Regions from separate parts of the Homo sapiens genome. Here regions 1, 2 and 3 are each linked to region 4. The links are contacts of gene promoters, found by promoter capture Hi-C in blood cells and fetal thymus (Javierre and others, 2016). All regions are on one chromosome and are shown on one strand. Each heading gives the region's core, a stretch centred on a gene start or on the middle of the fragment in contact. The rest is flanking DNA. Distances are from core to core; before and after follow the strand shown.

Region 1 (2,907 bases), core at 368-2,867, 730 kb before region 4:
ACTATGTTCTTATGAAATGGGGAAATTTGGACACAGAGACAGACACACACAGAGAGATGATATGGAAACATAAGGAGAACACCATCTGCAAGCCAAGGACGGCCTGAGGTTACCAGAAGCTAGGACAGAGGCAGGGAACAGATCCTCCCTTACAGACTTTGGAAGGAACCAATCCTTCTGACGCCTTGATTTTGGAGTTCTAGCCTCCAGAAGCATGAGGCAGTAAATTTCTGTTGTTTAAGCCCCCCAGCTTGTGGTACTTTGTTGAGGCAGTGCTAGCAAACTAGTACAGTTATATATTCTGAATCCTTGTCTTTTGGCTTGCCATTTAGCCCCCGAGTCTCCCTGGCAATCAATAAAGCACAGAAGCTTTGTTCAGATTGCCAACCACCCGGTTCAGTTCTGGACAACCTCATACTGCCATCCACGTAAGGCAAGTTCCTTTTAAAGTTTGCCAGACCAAAGCAATTAAGAGGGCAAATCTGTTGGAAAAACTCACATATTGCATTATGAAGCCAAATATAAATTCTACTTTGATTATTGTTCCTTATGAAGGAGAGCAGTGTCTCTAATAATCAGAAAAGAATCAGGGATTGATTGTATTTCATTTTCTTCGAGGAAAATTTGGCCAAATAGCTAAAGTAACCTGATTAATGAGAAATTTGCAGAATGGGAAAAACACTGCAATTATAGGCAGCAACCATGGACATCCGCTGATGGCCAAAGAACATAGCCAGTCTTCTGGTGCGTACATTATGTGGCAGCTCGTTGGTCTCCTGCCAAATAGGACAATCAATGTAGGTTGAAATTTGTCTCAATCTCACTCGGCAATCATATTCATAAACACTGCCTCTGTGTCTTATTTAGGTGAGACAGCAACTTAAAGACTATTATGTAAACAGAATTTTCATACCTAGAATTTTAAAAATGTATTAAACTTTAAAAGGGTCTTTCCTAATATTTGATGGAGGAGCTTCAGAATAGTTAATTTAAATGAAATTGTAGTATTATATATTTTCATTTTTTAAAATGTTAAGTTGCTAAGTGTGAAGGCTTTAGACACTGACACCTCATATTGATTCTTGCTTTACAAAGAGACTTGGAAAAGAAACCAGTGTATGTATAAAATGATTAATTGGGATAAGAAACTCAGCTAAGAGATATTCAGACTGGAAAAAACTAAATAAAGAATATAAAACAAGCAATTAAAAAAAGGAAAAAGCAGGCATGGTGTTGAAGTATATGAAGTAATCTAACACCACTGTGTTTTTTCATCTTCATTTTCCAGTGTCTATGCTGCATTGTAACTTTTGGAAAAACATGCACACACCTGGTGCCACCTGGGTAGGTGTGACCAGAACCTGCCTGTTGGAAAATAAAGGATTAAAAAAATGAAATGAGAGAAAGTGACACATAAAAGGACAACTTAAGGTTTCCGCAAAGCAAATACATAACCAAGCTGATCAACCCTCCAGCATAGTCCTTCTGAGCTGTGTTTCCACAGGAAAATGAGGGTAGAGGCAATCACAAAAGTCTTGGCTCTCATCCACCCCTGTGGCCTGCTGACACAGGCCCAGCTTGCCAGAGCACTGGGGTCACAATGAAGTTGCTGCCAGTAGAGCTGCTTTCATTAAAATTGAGTAAGAAGAACAGGTAATGGGGTTGGGCAGAAACTAGGACCTGAAAGTGGTTGGGATTGGGGGACTCCTGTCTTCTAATTGGGAAGGCTGGGTAGGGCTTCTTGGTAGTACCTGACAATTATCTTGTTCTAGCATTTACAGCCTTTCTCTACTCCTGGAGTCACTGCAGGGCCCCCAGGGGACTCTGAAAACAGCCAGTTGTTAAGCAAGGGTATTCTCCACTAGGGCTACCATGAAGTTTATATTATAGAGCTGGATCTTTCACCCCTTTTGTGCTGTAAACCATTTGTGCACAGCCTTTGAACTATTTCTCATAATAATACTTTTTAAATATATATAAAATATATGTCATTACAAATAAAATCAACTATGATGAAATATGGCACATGTATACATATGTAACTAACCTGCACAAAGTGCACATGTACCCTAAAACTTAAAGTATAATAAAAAAATATATATATATATTTATAAATATTGATATACTGTTAGAAAAACATTTTTTAAAATAAATAGGTGATATAGTAATTACATTCTTTATTAATATGTTCAATATAATCTGGTCTTGAGCTTATTAATTATGATTTCACATTAATGATGACGAAAAATAACATTTTGAGATATCAGCAACAACTGATACGAATGGAAATATCCATCATTTCTATTAGGGACAAAGTCACAGGTATTGCTAACACTGTGATTTGTTTCTACATTCATCATGGAAGGCAGTGCCAAATGTCATTTAAGGGTGCATGAAAATGTAGATGAAATGTTTTCCCATACAAGTTCACAGACCCCCTGAAATCTACCTGTGGACCCTTTGCTGGATCTGGAGTTCAGGTTAAGAACCCTGCCATACAGGCTTACCCATCCTAATACGGAAGTTTACCACAAATACCACATCAGCTTTCATGCAATTGTATGATAATTACCAACTTTTAAAACAGTGTCACTTTAATCTCTATCTCTCTGATGATTCAGAAATCACTTCAAAATTTTCACAAGAAGTAACATTGTGAGTATCAAAAAATTTGCCCTGTAGACTTGGGGAATGCTTGTTAATGAAATTACTAGGTTCAGAAAATCTCTAATAGTTGTTAGTATTTTCTTTCTAAACAAGAATGTGCAACAAATGATGCAAGAGCAGAATGGTATTATCATTGCTTTGCGAGTCCTCAGGAGAAAGAAATAGAGTGATCAATATGATCAATAAAACAAGGCAGTTTAAGCTTAAGTCAGACCCTGAAGTCAGGCGCATTTTCGTGCA
Region 2 (2,809 bases), core at 263-2,762, 660 kb before region 4:
CTAAATGTGTTAAATGTTCCTGCCAGATTTTTCCATCTATAAATTTTTACAAAGAGCTTCTTGAGAGAGAAATTAAAAAGTGAAAATCCGCCTGAAAAAGTATTTCTACAAAGACATTATCATGTAATTGTTTTCTTCCTTAGGTATTTAAGCTATCATCCTGTACCTAATAAGGTTTTGTATTTGCTGATTTTCAAAGTGCCAGAGCTTCCTCTGAAGGAAGGAAAAATCAACATTAACATTAGCTATTGTTTACTTCATCCTCAATAATGACAAAGTGTCTAAGTAATCATTATTAGCAAAAACCAGAAGCTTAAACATCTGCAATTTGTCCAGTCCCATATTTTTGGCTAAAGATAAAAAGATTTCCTTATTTGTCACTTTAGATGCATTCATTAAGAAAAGGCCCTATGTTTTTAAGGTTCAGGGCTTCATCACAGAAACATAATATGTGGAGATATATTAACTATTTAAATTATAAATGAGAAGAGGTGCTGGCAAGTATTTCTTTGAAACATTGAACACGCAAGTGTCTGCAGCTAGTATAAACAATAATTTTGTTTCATGCAAAACTGTTCATATACATGGATATAAAATGCAAGTAATTATCTGTCTGATTAATGTTTCATGAAAGTAGCCATCAAATGTGATTTTAAAAAAATGACAAGTCACATTTTTTAGTAACTCCCAAATGGCCCCAGAGGCATAGGAATTTCACATAAGAAAGAGAAATTGTGTGGGCTATTTTTTCCATTTATAACCTAATAAAGATACAGCTGGTTATTGTCAACCTAATTTTATGTTTAGAAAAATCACTTAAAGGAAGACACAAAACTGACAGGAGTTCTTCAACATTTTATTTCTCACATGAAAATGTGAAAAGTTACATTTGACAAGATAGAAAACAAAAATAAATATGTAAATTGTTGTAATAAGTAAACTGTTGCCAAGTTTCTGATGTTCCAAATAATTCATAATCTGAGAGCTTCCATACGTGGATCTAAGAAAATCCATTTGTCCTAATGTTCTGCTGAAATATTCTGAGTAGGGCTGAAATTTGCCATTCACTTTTTATGTGGATGGTGCTTATTAGGACAAAAACATCTCAGCTGCTATCACTCTAAAGGTAAAATCATACCTATTTAGTTTGAAGGTGTAGGTTTTTTTTTCCCTAAACATAAATTAAAGGAAAAAGGAAAAACGCTAGCTAAAATCCTGTATTATTAGTGATGCATTCATTGATTTATTCCACACTTTCACGCTATGCACATACAAATAAAAGTAGTTCCCTTCGAAGAGCTTACACTCTGTTAGACCTATGATATTTAGATAACTGTAACCTTATTTACTTACTTATTTAAAGAAAGTTTTCATTCCTAATAAATCATTCTCAAGGCTATATTTATCAAGGTTCATGCTTTCTACTTCCTCTTGGGGGTGGGGCAAGCAAGCGTCTTTATAAGGTAATCATGCTTGGAACTTCTGTTTGCATGCGCTCATCAAAATCAAGTGTAGCTATTTAGGGAAGCAAAGACCCTAGTCTAGGCCTGGAAATGAGATTCTCTTCTTTTTTGGCCTCCCCTTCTCTGGTTCTGAAATCAAGTTTTCCTGGTCTCATTACTAGGAATTCTTCCTCTTCTTATCACTACGCAGTACCCACAGCAAACCAGGATAATTGTATAAGCCCCTTGGCTATTTAATGTTGCTCTGAACTCAACAGGTATCTTGCAAGAATAAACAAATCCATTGTGGACTGCAAGTCACTTGCTTTCAGGCTAGGGAGAAAATGCAGCCTTAAGTCAAAAGGGCATTTTCCCTCTCAGCTAGGAGAGCCCTGTCAAGATAGGCTGCTGGTGTTCACATCTCCCTCGCAGCGAACCCCAAAGCCGCCCTGGGAGGAGAACCCGGTGACCAAGAGGACCGACTCAGAGGCCGAGCGCGCTCAGGGCTCGGAATGGGTCTGCAGGAAGTCGTCCCGAAAGAGCTGCCTGGACACGTGCGTGACACTCACCTGTTCACACTCTCCAGGCCAGGAGAGCTACGGTCCTCTGCAAGTTCGGAATGGGTCCCCCAAGATCGCGAAGCCCTCCCACACTGCGCAGCCCAGGCTTCAGGTTGCGTTTGCGAGTTGCTGGGCTGCGGTCGTGGGTGGGACTCGCCGCAGAAGCAAGTGCCAGTGGCCCGGCGGGGGTCTCCTCACTCGCGCTCGCTCCGACTAGCGGCGGAGGGACTGCGGCAGGACGCGAGCTGAGCCCGGCCAAGGCCGCTGCGCTCAGCGGCCAGGATGCTGCAGTGCGGCGCTTCGGCGCCCCCTACTGGGGGCAGGGGCAGGCTCCTCCCGCCGCGCTGCCTCCCAGGCTTGCGAGCTTGGGTCTTTAACGTGCTGCACCCAAGACGGGCTTCCCTTTTTCACTGGTTATTTCCAAGCCTCCAGGCTCCCACCGAAGGGCGGCTTTCCTCGGTCAAAACCTTGCCTAAGAAAGCATCACTACGTGGTGTTTTCTATTCCTTATTTCAAATGATCCTCGCAATATCTCTTTGAAGTATCTTTAATTATCTCCATGATACCCAAGAGGAAACTGAAGGAGAAGGTAACGCAAGGCTAGTAAATGGCTGGAATGAAATCCAGACTGGATTGGGAACTGAGAGATGCTAGGAAAAACAAACAAGGAATTCAATTGAAATTCTATTCATATATTTGAGAAAGTTCCAAAAGCTTCTCGTCCTCCTTACAGGATCAGCATTTATAGGATTTGCATTGGAGTCATACTCCATTATGCTCAGACCCTAACAAAGACAATTAATATGC
Region 3 (3,115 bases), core at 23-2,522, 610 kb before region 4:
CTAAAACTAAACAAAAATGCTAATAATAGAGAGGCTTTCAAGTTCAGAAGAGTTAACGCTAGTTTAATTCCTCATCTTTATTCCCCAGAGTCTTGCTCTGTCACCCAGGCTGGAGTGGCATGCTGGGTTCACTGCAGCCTCTGCCTCCTGGGTTCAAGCAATTTGCCTGCCTTGGCCTCCCGAGTAGCTGGGATTACAGGCGCTGTGCACCATCACACCTGACTAATTTTTGTATTTTTAGTAGAGAGAGGGTTTCACCATGTTAGCCAGGCTGGTCTTGAACTCCTGACCTCAGATGATCCACCCGCCTCAGCCTCCCAGAGTGCTGAGATTACAGGTGGGAGGCACCGCGCCTGGACTCCTCATCTCTTTTCTTACCTTAAAGAAGTTAACTAACTTTTTGTCTCAATTACTTAATCTGTTAATTAGTCAATAATACCTTTTTCACAATATTATTGCTATACATGGAAAACAGCAGTTACATTTCTAGTACATGGTACTTTTTCAATAAATAGCAGCTATCATTAAAGCTCACAAAATCAAGTCATTCCCTAAGGTCACTAGCTATGCCAATTGATTCTTCTTGGGGCAATTGATTCTTCTTTTACGTAATAAGTGGATTAGACAAAATGACTCTTTAATATTCTATAACTACATAAGACAAAAGTTGTCCCTATAAACCAGCATCTCATACAAGTGGAGTTGCAGAGAAAGAAAATAATACTTGAGTTCTAGTCCTAACTCCACCACTGCCCACCAGGTCAACAGAGAAACCACAGATCCCTTCTGTGTAGAATTACAGGGTTGAGTGAATATGATCTCTGATAGTCTCTGATGCTGTTGGTACCAGACAAAAATGTCTGATACTTTTGGTCATGGTGGGCAGACAACATGTGAAAGCAGAAGTGAGTTCAAAGCTGGAAGAGTTCACCATATTTCAGGATCAACTGCTGAGACTTGGATGTCTGGCACCATTTTGATCAAAGGCTCAAACCTGTGCCTCTTGACTCTGGTGTCCAGTGCTGGGAAGTCTATTTGAGACACAGTTTTGCTTCCCTTGCTCTAGGATAAAAGGGAAGTTATAGGCTTGTATTAATTAAACGTCCGTAAAGTGTGGATGAGTGAGGCACATATACAATGAAAGTAAAAAGGGATGTAACCAACCTAAGGAAGGAGTTCTAAATTCCATCACCACACACTAGGCCTATATGAAGAGATAACACAATAATTATAGAAAAGGGATTATAAGCACCAGGACCTGAAAATCACCCCCCTCCTTTTTTTTTTTTTAATGGAGATAGAGTCTTGCTATGTCACCCAGGCTGGAGTGCAGTGGCATGATCTCGGCTCACCGCAATCTCCGCCTCCTGGGTTCAAGCAATTCTCCTACCTCAGCCTCCCGAGTAGCTGGGATTACAGGTGCCACACCCTGCTAATTTTTTGGGTTTTTTTTGTATTTTAGTATCACCATGTTGCCCAGGCTGGGCTCGAACTCCTGAGCTCAGGCAATCCGCCCGCCTCGGCCTCCCAAAGTGCTGGGAAAATCCCCTTTGAATGTCAGGGACAGGTTACCTAGGAGAAAGGCACAGCATTGCAAACATAAAATTAAGCAGTTAATTTCAGAGGAAAAGACTGAGTTTTAGAAAGCCCCTGTTCACTGGAAACAAAAAATGTGACCATACAAAAGAGCCTATAGCATCATTTCCAGTTTAGTCTAGTTAGTAGGGAGGGAATCATGATGTGTTGTGTGTGTGGTCTGGGCCTCAAGCCATTGGGAAATGCTTAGAAGAATTTGATCTACTATGTTTGTAAGTCTGATTTACTTGATTTACAATTTCTACAATTTCAGTACTTAGCAAGATGTTGTTAGATCTGTATTTGAGTGTTTAAAATAAAATCTGTATATATCTTAGTCAATTAAACATTTGAGATAATACAGATGTATTAAAGTTGTCATTGTAGTTTAACATATCCAAGGCAATTTTATTAAATACATAAAATGGTGTTGTTTGAAAAAGAATTTGATCTCACATATCAAATTCAGAAAAGCATTTTTTCAAAGTTACTAAATGTAAAAATAAAATAAGATTTATAATTCAAACTTAAAGTCTTGAAAATTTTTAATTTAAAAATTGTACCTTTAATCAAAGGAATATTGATTAAAATCCAAGTTTGGGATAGAATTCCTGTTCCTGAACAAAATCCCCACTGATATTATTCCTTTCAGCATTTGTCTTCCTGTAGTCTGGCTACCCCAGGCAAAGTGCAGCAGGAGGCAGAAGAATCCCATCATAAGTAGGTAGGCACAAATCTTTCACGTGTTTCTGCCCATGCCTGCATCTGTAGTGCCACCTAGTGTCAGAGAGGGATAATAACATTTTTAGAAGTCAAGGGTGGAGCATGAAACCCATTTCAATTCTCAATTTTTTCTTAAATTCTGAATGTGTGAAACTTTCCAAAATCGTGGTGTCTAAGCCTTTTTTCTCTCTGCTGTCTCATGGCATTTTGTGTTTTCTTGTTTATATTCCCATAGCACATTCTATTCATATCATTGAGTATATTTCTTAGCTTTGGGTTTAGTAAAACCTCTGCCTTCATGCAGCTTGTGCACTAGTAAGATTTCCACTTCTGTCATACTATTTATCACAGCTGGTTCATATCAGCATCATTTATATATGTCCACCTCTTTTATTGCCTGGGAGCTGTTTTCTCAATAGTGCCTCATTACTAAAGAGGGCCTTGCCTTGTGTTCAATGAATACATATGGAATTAAATAGATGAGCAAAAAAGAATATTGAGCATAATGTACAAATAAATTGATTTTATAGATTTAATGTTCCTTTCATCTTTGTGTATTTGGTCAACAATTATTTTCTTCATCTGTTTTATGCTGGAAGTCACACTGTTGTATACTTTCTAGCTAGAATAAGAGATAGGATAATGGAATTTCTCTTCTTTTGCATGAGAATGATTAGACGCTTATAAAAGAAAACGGTCAAGTCTACGATTTTTACAAAATAACATCATTTAGTCATCTTTTCTACTGTATTCTATTTCCTAATTTATCAAATGTTATGTGTCATGTGAGAAAATTTATTCAAGTACTACATACACA
Region 4 (2,759 bases), core at 104-2,603:
CAAAAGGGAGAGGATGGCACAAAGGAGGAGTCGAACAAGATAAAATGAAAAACATATATAGTAAGTGCTTTACCGTAAGTGAATGAACGAGAGTACTAAGGAAAAAGAATGGAGACGTATTTCAAGTTCTCACGTTGTTTGACTCGAATCTTGTAGACGGTGTTTGCTGCAAAAAGATGAAGAAAACATTCACAGACATTTATGTTGATTACATATTTATTGCTATGTGCCCAGACGTTTTGACCTTGGGGATAAAGTAGCAAAGAAAACACAAAAATCTCTGTTGTATTGGGTTTACATTCTATCAATAAAGATACAACTTGCCCAGAGAAAAGCCCTCTCCTGGTTAGGAAACAGTATCAACAATTAACAGCTCTGGTGGTTTCACAGAGCCACAGTGGGCTGCCTGCTGCAGACAATATCAGAGTTTGTTTATATTTAAATATTATTTTAATATTTCTATTTTTGTCCATGTATTATAATGCACATCTATGTAATTTGCAAATCATCACTCATATATACATCATATCAAAAGGTGTAAAAGTTTTTGATAGAATTCAGCATTCATTCGCTTATAAAATGAGTGAAGGCTCACTTTACGGATGAGAGTATTTCATCAAAAAAATTGGGGATCTACGACTCTAGAGTTCTCCGAAGTCCACCAAGGAAAAAGTAACTTGAATTTAATCGCATTTAAAACTATATAGTATCCACTCCTAAAACATTAGCAACATAGGAAAACTTACACAGCGGAAGAAATGACTGGGGATTTTTTTTTTTTTTTTAATACATGGTCTCGCTCTGTTGCCCAGGCTGGAGTGCGGTGGCGCGAGCACCGCTTACTGCGGTGTCGACCTCTCGGGCTCGAGTTATCCTCCCACCTCAGCCTTCCAAGTAGGTGGGACCACAGGCACCACCACTCCAAGCCCGTATATGGTTTTTAAATAAGACAAATTGCAAAAAACGTTGCCAGACAGCGTTCGCTGGTTTGGGCCGTCACTGGGTATGGCTCGTGTCCGTCTAGATATTCAGAGGCCGAGCACAGTCCTCAGTAGGGCTGCTCGGCAGGTACACAGCTGACGCTGGTCCTTGGACTTATGGGAGTGGGAACAACTTTCAACTCGGCCGCGGACCAGGAAGGCGTTCTGACCCGCTAGAGCTCGGGGACAGGGACCCCATCCCGGTGCCTAGAGCGTCTCCCTTAGTCGGCGTGGGCCAGCGCCAGTTACCTCACGAGCACTGAACTAGCGCCTGCGCCCTTCTATACTTCTCGCTCTTTCTTCAAGTCACTTCTACCCGGCGAGCCCGCCCTCCCGCCAATCGTCATTTCCGGCGGGTGCTCTGCGTCATTTACGTCGTCACTTCCTGCCGATGCCGGTGTGGACGCTGTGAATCGTGGCTGGCCCGGTTCTCCGCTTCTCCCCATCCCCTACTTTCCTCCCTCCCTCCCTTTCCCTCCCTCGTCGACTGTTGCTTGCTGGTCGCAGACTCCCTGACCCCTCCCTCACCCCTCCCTAACCTCGGTGCCACCGGATTGCCCTTCTTTTCCTGTTGCCCAGCCCAGCCCTAGTGTCAGGGCGGGGGCCTGGAGCAGCCCGAGGCACTGCAGCAGAAGAGAGAAAAGACAACGACGACCCTCAGCTCGCCAGTCCGGTCGCTGGCTTCGCCGCCGCCATGGCAATGAGACAGACGCCGCTCACCTGCTCTGGCCACACGCGACCCGTGGTTGATTTGGCCTTCAGTGGCATCACGCCTTATGGGTATTTCTTAATCAGCGCTTGCAAAGGTGAGCAAGGCCGCAATCCTGGTCCTCGACGGCTGGGACTGGGCTGAAAGGGATCGGGACCCGCACGCTCCAGTGCCGAAGCGGTGGTGTGGTGAGGGGGGAGGGGGCGATATTAACATCTGAGATGAGAGCCAACACTGGTCCGGTGGAGAAAGGAGTGTGTTAGGGAATCCGCAGCTGGAGCCGAGAGGACGCTTTTGTAGAAACTATTACCTCCAACTAAGACCTCTCTCCTTATTTTATTTTTATTGCTATTTTTGAAGGAGCTGGTCAGCATTTGCCTAGACTCTCGGGACAACACGGTAAATAGCTTTCAAGGATTTGGGGAAAGGAGAAATTAGGCCAGGCCGTGCAATACCTTACAAAGACGTTCGCTCTTGTCTCACTGGATATTCCTTTGTGGTATTAGCCTCATTTTTCAAATGGGAAACTGAGATTCAGGCTAAGATGTCTGTCCAAAATAAGACTAAAATCTAGATTGTTTTGACGCAGATCAGTATTCCCAGCCAATTACAGATGCTTTTCAGAGAGAATGATCTGTTCAGCTCTTCAGTTAATTTATTACTGCACATTCCTTAGTGCCTTCAGTGGGTGGTGGTAGTTAAATAGCTGAAACAATTTTTCCACTTTGTCATTGAACATCATTGTATATTTACATTTGAATCTTAGACTTTAAGTAATCTGAACTTATAAATTACATGTTTTAAAAAATATTTTCTAGATGGTAAACCTATGCTACGCCAGGGAGATACAGGAGACTGGATTGGAACATTTTTGGGTCATAAAGGTGCTGTTTGGGGTGCAACACTGAATAAGGATGCCACCAAAGCAGCTACAGCAGCTGCAGATTTCACAGCGTAAGTGTAGCCAAGATGGCTAACTTTGGTGTTCTCTGTAGCTTGTGTCCTGAAATAATCAAAAACTTCAGTGTCAGATATTCATAAAATTCTGACTCACTGGCTGCCATACAGAA

Evidence for each region. Contacts are between HindIII fragments. The CHiCAGO score rates a contact against its expected background, and 5 or more counts as called.
Region 1: a contact is called between a fragment that was not itself captured here and the fragment with the promoter of STRAP in region 4, in 1 of 17 cell types (naive CD8 T cells). The highest score is 5.8, in naive CD8 T cells.
Region 2: a contact is called between a fragment that was not itself captured here and the fragment with the promoter of STRAP in region 4, in 1 of 17 cell types (non-activated CD4 T cells). The highest score is 5.5, in non-activated CD4 T cells.
Region 3: a fragment that was not itself captured here is called in contact with the fragment with the promoter of STRAP in region 4 in 1 of 17 cell types (total CD4 T cells); the score reaches 5.3 in total CD4 T cells.

Annotation. Positions count from the first base shown.
Region 1 is chr12:15,153,908-15,156,814 of GRCh38, forward strand. All of the region lies in intron 2 of RERG (RAS like estrogen regulated growth inhibitor), which reads right to left. RERG-AS1 (RERG antisense RNA 1) reads left to right here. Exons shown (of 3, transcript NR_046559.1): 2 at 333-433; 3 at 1,289-1,376. Among named protein-coding and RNA genes, the nearest start is that of RERG-AS1, 3.4 kb to the left of the region's middle. The HindIII fragment of the contact is 2,500 bases long and covers 368-2,867 here.
Region 2 is chr12:15,219,184-15,221,992 of GRCh38, forward strand. It overlaps RERG (RAS like estrogen regulated growth inhibitor), which reads right to left and starts at 2,234. Exons shown (of 5, transcript NM_032918.3): 1 at 2,012-2,234. It overlaps LOC124902886, which reads left to right and starts at 1,485. Exons shown (of 1, transcript XM_047429948.1): 1 at 1,485-2,795. The coding sequence starts at 2,062. The coding sequence ends at 2,379. The HindIII fragment of the contact is 2,404 bases long and covers 311-2,714 here.
Region 3 is chr12:15,266,791-15,269,905 of GRCh38, forward strand. It overlaps LOC105369673 (a long non-coding RNA gene), which reads right to left. Exons shown (of 3, transcript XR_007063224.1): 3 at 2,149-2,352. Among named protein-coding and RNA genes, the nearest start is that of RERG, 47 kb to the left of the region's middle. The HindIII fragment of the contact is 9,263 bases long and covers 1-3,115 here.
Region 4 is chr12:15,881,034-15,883,792 of GRCh38, forward strand. STRAP (serine/threonine kinase receptor associated protein) reads left to right here and starts at 1,354. Exons shown (of 10, transcript NM_007178.4): 1 at 1,354-1,786; 2 at 2,508-2,643. The coding sequence starts at 1,675. It overlaps LOC102724146 (a long non-coding RNA gene), which reads right to left and starts at 1,265. Exons shown (of 6, transcript XR_007063230.1): 1 at 747-1,265; 2 at 74-166. RefSeq lists enhancers at 772-1,001, 1,312-1,431. The HindIII fragment of the contact is 32,342 bases long and covers 1-2,759 here.